Regions from separate parts of the Homo sapiens genome. Here region 2 is linked to region 1. Evidence: promoter capture Hi-C in human tissues and cell types (Jung and others, 2019). All regions are on one chromosome and are shown on one strand. The core of a region is centred on a gene start or on the middle of the fragment in contact, and the rest is flanking DNA. Distances in the headings are between cores, read along the strand shown. Region 1 holds the start of KCNK13 (potassium two pore domain channel subfamily K member 13). Region 2 holds the start of PSMC1 (proteasome 26S subunit, ATPase 1).

Region 1 (3,439 bases), core at 733-3,232:
TAATTGTAGAATCTAGGTGGTGGGTATACGGGTGTTCACTGTAAAATTCAACTTTTTAGAATGTTTGAAATTTTTCATAATAAAATGGATTTAAAAGGTAATTGCAGTACTCACCCTGGGTGTATACACATGCACCCATTCTCGCGATGCCCCTAAAGCTCTTGCCCCTCAGAAGGCTAGATGAAAGAGGGGCATTGGGGAGTGAGTAACAGAGCCGAGAGGACTGCTAACAGCACCAGGGTTTCTGATGAAAATGCACTCGCCAGAGCTGTGTTTCTTTATTCGAAATCACACGGTTTTACTCAACAGGGCTCCTAGCCCTTCTGTCTCTGCTCCTGGTGCGTAAGGGCGGTGTGTGGGGCTCTGCGCCTGAAACCGCTCTCTCGGAAGGTGGGAAGATGCCCACGTATCCATTCCTCTCCGCGTACAGATTCGCTCCCACACGCCCGGGCGGGTGATTCCGGAGGGCCGCGCGGGGCTGTGTGCGCGGGCGGGGGCGGGATGTGTCTGGAGGGGGCAGAGCGCCCTCTCCCGGCCCCGGAGGGCCCACGCGGACCGGCTGAGCGTCCCACCAGCCGGTTCTGCATCCACTACCCAGATCTGCGCGCCCTGGTGGGAGCACCGCAGCCCCGGGTCGGCCCTTCGAACGCCGAGCGTCTACCCGCGGAGACCAGCGCAGGAGGCGGGCCCGCGCGCAAGGAGGCGGGCGACAGGGTGGAGTCGCCGCAGCTGGCAGCCGCACGGCTCTACCTGTTGCAGCGTCGGAGCGCGCCCGCCTGAGAAGGCAGAGCGCGGTGCGGACCTGTGCTCCGCGCGCCGGCTGGCAGGGCAGGGCCGCGGCTGCCAGGAGGCCCGGGAACAGTCCCGACGGAGCGGCGCGGAGAGGGCGCTCCCCGGAAGGTGAGATCTGAGCGCGGCAGCGGCGCCAGCGCCCGCTACAAGGCGGGGTCTCGGGGAGGGGGCCCCGGCGGTTTGCTGGAGAGCCTTGCTACTGTTCTGCATGAGGTGGGGGATGCCTTCTGCGCGGACCCCGCGTCCAGGCAAAACTCTGGAACGCACTAGGCAGCCAAGCCCGGGGGGAAGAGATGGAACGCTCCAAGGTCAAGGTCTCCTGGCCGCGGAGCCCTTCCAGCCCCCAGTGTTTGGCCTCCTCTCCGGAAGCGGGGCTGGCTCGCGGTGCGCGCTTGGTCCGGGCGGAGCCTACTAGTAGGCGCAGAGGACGCCCCCGCGCAGGATCCAGAGACCAAGGGCGCTCTGGCATGGTCAAGGCGAGGGAGGCTGCCCGGGGGAGAAGCCCCTAACTTCCTTTGCTCCCTGTTCCAACCTCCCTTTCTGGTCTCCTCTCTCCAGCCCGTCCGCCCAACGGATGCGCAGCGTTGGGGCCCGGCCGGAGGTCGGAGCCCTCGGACGCCGCAGCCCTCGGACGCCGCTCAGCACAGCCCCTCTCTCCGTGCGCCCGCCCTGGACCCCCTCCATCCCTAAGCCCCGGCAGCCGATTCGGAGACTCGGGAGGCCACAGGCTCAGCGCGACACCACGACCACAACTAGGAGGCACCATCGTCGATCTACCTGGGGAGGCACCTACAAAGCCAGCAGACTGACACCCGTGTCCTAGCCGTCGGCGGCCTGCGAAGCGATAGTCAAAGGAACCAGGACCCAGGACCCCGGCGCTCTGCTTACCCGCAGACCTCCGGACCGCGCCCCCCCCCCGCCGCCCCGCCCCGCCCCGCCCCGCCCCGCGACCGTCTCTTTGCGGGAAACTCGAGTTGGCTCGAGCTTGCCCTGAAGACGCGCCACGCCCCCTCCCCTATCTGAGCCGGACAGGGAGCCGGGGTGGAAACTGCGCCCGCATCCCAGCGCCAAGCAGACGTGAACTCTGCGCCCGTTCCCCGGGACCTTCAGCGTTAAGGAGAACTCCGAGGAGAGCAGGGGGAGTGGAGGGGAACGGCGGCGACAAAGCGGATTTGAAACTAGGAGTCAAGGAGGACGTGGGGAGCTGGCGCCACAGGAGCTACCGAGGCGGCGGCCGGGGGAGCCTCGCGGCCTGCGGGAGAGCCCGGCGGTCATGGGCGAGCCGGCGGTGGGGCGCCCGGGAGCTGGCTGAGCGCCGGGGCCCTTATTTCCCGGGGGTGTGGGCGAGACTCCGCCGACGCCCGGTGCCGTGGGCCTGGGGGCTGCCCCCGGGGGCCCGGCCATGGCTGGCCGGGGTTTCAGCTGGGGCCCGGGCCACCTGAACGAGGACAACGCGCGCTTTCTGCTGCTGGCCGCGCTCATCGTGCTCTACCTGCTGGGCGGCGCCGCCGTCTTCTCCGCGCTGGAGCTGGCGCACGAGCGCCAGGCCAAGCAGCGCTGGGAGGAGCGCCTGGCCAACTTCAGCCGCGGCCACAACCTGAGCCGCGACGAGCTGCGCGGCTTCCTCCGCCACTACGAGGAGGCCACTCGGGCCGGCATCCGCGTGGACAACGTCCGCCCGCGCTGGGACTTCACCGGCGCCTTCTACTTCGTGGGCACCGTCGTTTCCACCATAGGTAAGTGTGCTGGCCGGACTCGCTGACAACCTCCGGGCGGCCTCCACTTCCTCCGGGGGGCAGGACCGACCCTCTCATCCTTTCATTCATCCATCTGGGCGCCCAGCCAGACTCCACTGACATGAGCTGTCGCCTGATCAACAGGTGGTATTGCCTCCCCGCTGCTCTAATGTGGTCCAGGCACCGGCAGCTTCAGCGTCACCTGGCAGCTTGTTAGAAATGCAGTCTCAGTCCCCTCTGCAGACCTGCCGAGTCAGAATCTGCATGTTAACAAAGTCCCCAAAGGATTGGAATGATCCTTAAATTGGAGACGCTCTGCTCTGGGAGATTTTCAGTCTAATGAAGGAGACACGGCTTGAGTTCATGGGGAAGAAGGCTTTTACAGATAGGGACAGGAAACTAAACATTTACTGAGTCAGTCAGAGGGGAAGTGCAGATTTTAAAAGATTCTGCCCTCGACTTCACACTTACCGAGAAAAAATCAGAACAGCAGACTGAAAGTGAGGAAGCAAAAGTGCCAATGACGGTTCAAAAGATGGAAAATTTTCCACCAGGAAGAACCAGGGAAGTGACCTTTGGGCTGAATCAATTCGTGTTAGGCATAACTTGGGTTTGGGAACTGAAAGCGCGGTTGCACTCTAGAGTAGGAGAGAATCGCACTCAGGGGCCCCATGAGCTGGTTGGAGTGGTGGAAGGAAGACTAGGAAGGTCTGCTGGCTAATGGGATGGAGGCGGGGGTAGGACCTTCACTGACAGACTGAGGAGCTGGAATTTACCTAGAGGCACCTGGGAGCCATTGAGAATTTTTTAGCAAAGATGTAGCACAGCTACAATCAGCTGTGTTTATTTCCCAGCAGAAGGAAAATGATTTGGGGGAGTCTGCGCCACACCCCTAAAGATTGTTCATCCTT
Region 2 (3,280 bases), core at 750-3,249, 190 kb after region 1:
TTTTTTTTTCTTTTTGAGATGGATTTTCCTTCTTTTCGCCCCGGCTGGAGTGCAATGGCGCAATCTCGGCTAACTGCAACCTCCGCCTCCCAGGTTCAAGCGATTGTCCCGTTTCAGCCTCCCGAGTACCTGAGATTACAGGCATCTGCCACCACTCCCAGCTAATTTTTGTATTTTCAGTAGACATGAGGTTTCACCATATTGGTCAGGTTGGTCTTGAACTCCTGAACTCAGGTGATCCACCCGCCTCGGCCTCCCAAAGTGCTGGGATTACAGGCGTGAGCCACGGCGCCCAGCCCCTGTGCATCTCTTTTGCCCTATGGCTGACTCTCAATCCTCCCCACCCGGTTGACAGTCATCTCTGCAACTCTCCCTCTTTTCCACTTGCAACTTCCAACCTCCCCAAGTGCTGAGCACTCCAAGTAGTCTTTCTAATCCTCTCCCTGCTTTCTCTTAGCTGTCCATTATGTAGATAAACTTAAATTTTCTGCTTACTTTATGTCACTTCCTACAGCCACAATAGGAAAGTCTGATGCCAACGTTGGCTACTCTCTTCATTACTGGGTTCTATTGACTCGCCTTTAACCGCTGAGCTTCCACTGGGAGTTATGTGCCTGTTTCTGACTTCTTCACTATATGGTGTCTCTAATCTCCATCCTCTGCAGCTTCTACTGCAGGGCCTCTGCCCTGGCTGTTCCCTCTACCTAGAAAGCTCTTCCACCAGATATCTGAATAGCTTACTCCTTCATGCCTTACGGGCTTTTGCTCAAGTATCATCCAATTTAAAGTTAAAATCACCCACCACTGCTGCATGCTCCTAATCCTAGGCATTTTTCCTAGGCATTAATTTTTCCTATGGCATTTACCACTATGTGGCATACTATATATTTTACTATTTACTTGTTTCTTGTAAAATGCATTAGGGAAAGGATATTTATTTTGTTTTTTAAATTTTTATTAATTTTTTTTTTTGAGACAGAGTCTCGCTCTGTCACCTAGACTGGAGTGCAGGGGCGTGATCTCACTGCAACCGTCGCCTCCCAGGTTCGAGAGATTCTCATGACTCGACCTCCCAAGCAGCTGGGATTACAGATGCCCACGATGATGCCCGACTAATTTTTGTATTTTTAGTAGAGATGGGAGTTTCACCATCTCTATCCTATGTGTGATACTGTCCTATCGTGTGATTTCATGTGTCATGTACACTAGATGCCAGATTTGTTAACAGAGGTCGATAGTGCTAAGACTTTCTATTACCGTGTTGCAGTGATGATGAAAAGGAAGAAGTATACCTGTTGTGTGTTCATAAGGGAAATATTTTTAGTGTTTCACAACTAAAATCCCTAAATCAATCTGGAGCAGAAAAAAAATCATCCATTTCTCCAGTTCAGAAAGATGCAGTATTTTGAGCACTTGTTAATGAAATTTCCAGAAACAGAAGGGATTGTTGCCATTTTTCTGATGTCCTGGAGGGTGTAACAAATGAGGAACTTTACCAATCAGCTTCAAGATGAGGAATTTAAGACATTTGGCATCATCACAAGTCACAGGTCATCAGAAAAAGACAGGTTTAGAAGACTCGTTACACACATACTCCCAGATGTGCAGGTTAAATTCCAGAAGCTGAATAATAACTGAAATATTTGTGCAAATGTATATGTCAACTTCCCAGTTCCAAATACCATTCCAGTTTTTAGAACCATAAAGTTCTTCCCAGTTATAAATTTTGCATAATTTAAATATTTTATATTTTCACGATTGTCCTAATTCTTTGACAGTAGGGGTCATTGTCTTAAGTTGTTGACAAGCGCCTCATAACGGGTATTCAAAAATTTCTTTCAAGTAAAATATTTATAAAGTTCACTTTATGCTTATAAACTGCTGCGTTGCCCTAGACCGCCCGCACAAGCCCTTGGAGCACAACTTGGTCAGCGCAGAATTTGGTTCCTATCAGCTTCCGTAGCGTCCCTAACGACTTCCGCCTCTGGCGGGCCGCAGTGGTGGAGGAACTTCCGGCAGCGGCAGCTCAAGTGGCCAAGGCAAGATGGTGAGTGACTAAGGGTTTCTTTCCGCTGGTCGTCGCGGTGCGATGGGGTCTCAGCAGCCTGAGGCGAGAGAAAGAGGCGGCTGCCCGAGGAACTGGGACAGCCCTCTTCTCCTTTTGCCGGCCTGATCTTCTCGGCGGGTGGAGGCTCCCAGAGACCGCGCTCATGTCCACCGCGGGCCGGGGCCGACCAACGGGCCTTGCCCGGGGATCCTGGGGCCGGGGCTCAGAGCAGAGAGAGGGTCTCCTGCGTGGTCTTGTGGGGCGGCAGAACGGATCAGGCCGCTGGCTTTGCTGCTCCGCCGACCAGGGCTTTGCTGATCGGCGCTGGGAGTTTCGGGGGCGCCTCCTCGAGTCACCGGGAAAAATGCTTTTTGAGTCGGGCAGGTGAAGGGTGCTGGAGAAGAGGGTGGGATTCATTCCACCTGAGGAGTTGAGCGCGGAGTCGTGGAAGGCCTTTCGGAGCTGGGGGCATTTGAAGGAGGCCTTAAAGACGTTGTTATGACAGGCGGAGCTAAGACGGAAAGGGCCCGTGGTGCAGTAGTAATAATAAAAACAGCTAGCATTTATTCATCAATTCACTAAACAAGTATTTACTGAGCACTTGGTGTTTTGTTGTTGTTGTTAAACTTTTGGCTAGCTTCTGTTGTAGACACTGAGGATTGATTGAAGTCCCTGCCTTCATAGTGCGTACATTCTAGAGCAGAAGGCAGACAATCATCAGAAATATGTAATATGATGTCAGGGGTGGGGTGGTCATTGTTGTATGGTTATTGTATAGAAAGGGATAGCTTGGAGGAGTGGCTGCTTTTTATAGAGTCAGCGAAGGTAGCTCTGAGGAGGTGAAATTTGAGCGGACCGAAATTGAGGGAGTAACCCCTGCAGATGTCTGAGGGAAATGTGGTCAAGGCAGAAGATACAGCAAGTGCAAAGGACCTGAGATGGGAATGTTTAACCTGTATCATGAACGGCAAGAAGGCCAGATCTCATAGAGGTCTTTTTTATTTTAATTTTAATTTTTATTTTTTTGAGACGGAGTCTTGGTCTGTCGTCCAGGCTGGAGTGCAGTGGCGCGATCTCCGCCTCCCGGGTTCAAGCGATTCTCCTGCCTTAGCCTTCCAAGTAGCTGCGACTATAGGCGCCCGCCACTACGCCCGGCTAATTTTTGTATTTTTGTAGAGACGGCGTTTCACTCTGTTGGCCAGGCTGGTCCTGAACTCCTGACCTTATGATCCG

What was found. The method cuts DNA at HindIII sites, captures the fragments that hold promoters and counts their contacts. A contact is called where the count stands out against the background at its distance.
Region 2: the fragment with the promoter of PSMC1 here is called in contact with the fragment with the promoter of KCNK13 in region 1 in 1 of the 25 tissues and cell types used here (neural progenitor cells).

What each region holds. Positions count from the first base shown.
Region 1 is chr14:90,060,012-90,063,450 of GRCh38, forward strand. It overlaps KCNK13 (potassium two pore domain channel subfamily K member 13), which reads left to right and starts at 1,983. Exons shown (of 2, transcript NM_022054.4): 1 at 1,983-2,528. The coding sequence starts at 2,195. It overlaps LOC124903406, which reads left to right. Exons shown (of 3, transcript XM_047432048.1): 2 at 391-900; 3 at 1,351-1,722. The coding sequence ends at 1,615. RefSeq lists a silencer at 286-675 and enhancers at 924-1,425, 1,426-1,925. The HindIII fragment of the contact is 23,188 bases long and covers 1-3,439 here.
Region 2 is chr14:90,254,554-90,257,833 of GRCh38, forward strand. PSMC1 (proteasome 26S subunit, ATPase 1) reads left to right here and starts at 2,000. Exons shown (of 11, transcript NM_002802.3): 1 at 2,000-2,047. The coding sequence starts at 2,045. RefSeq lists enhancers at 1,646-2,175, 2,051-2,290, 2,176-2,703. The HindIII fragment of the contact is 25,675 bases long and covers 1-3,280 here.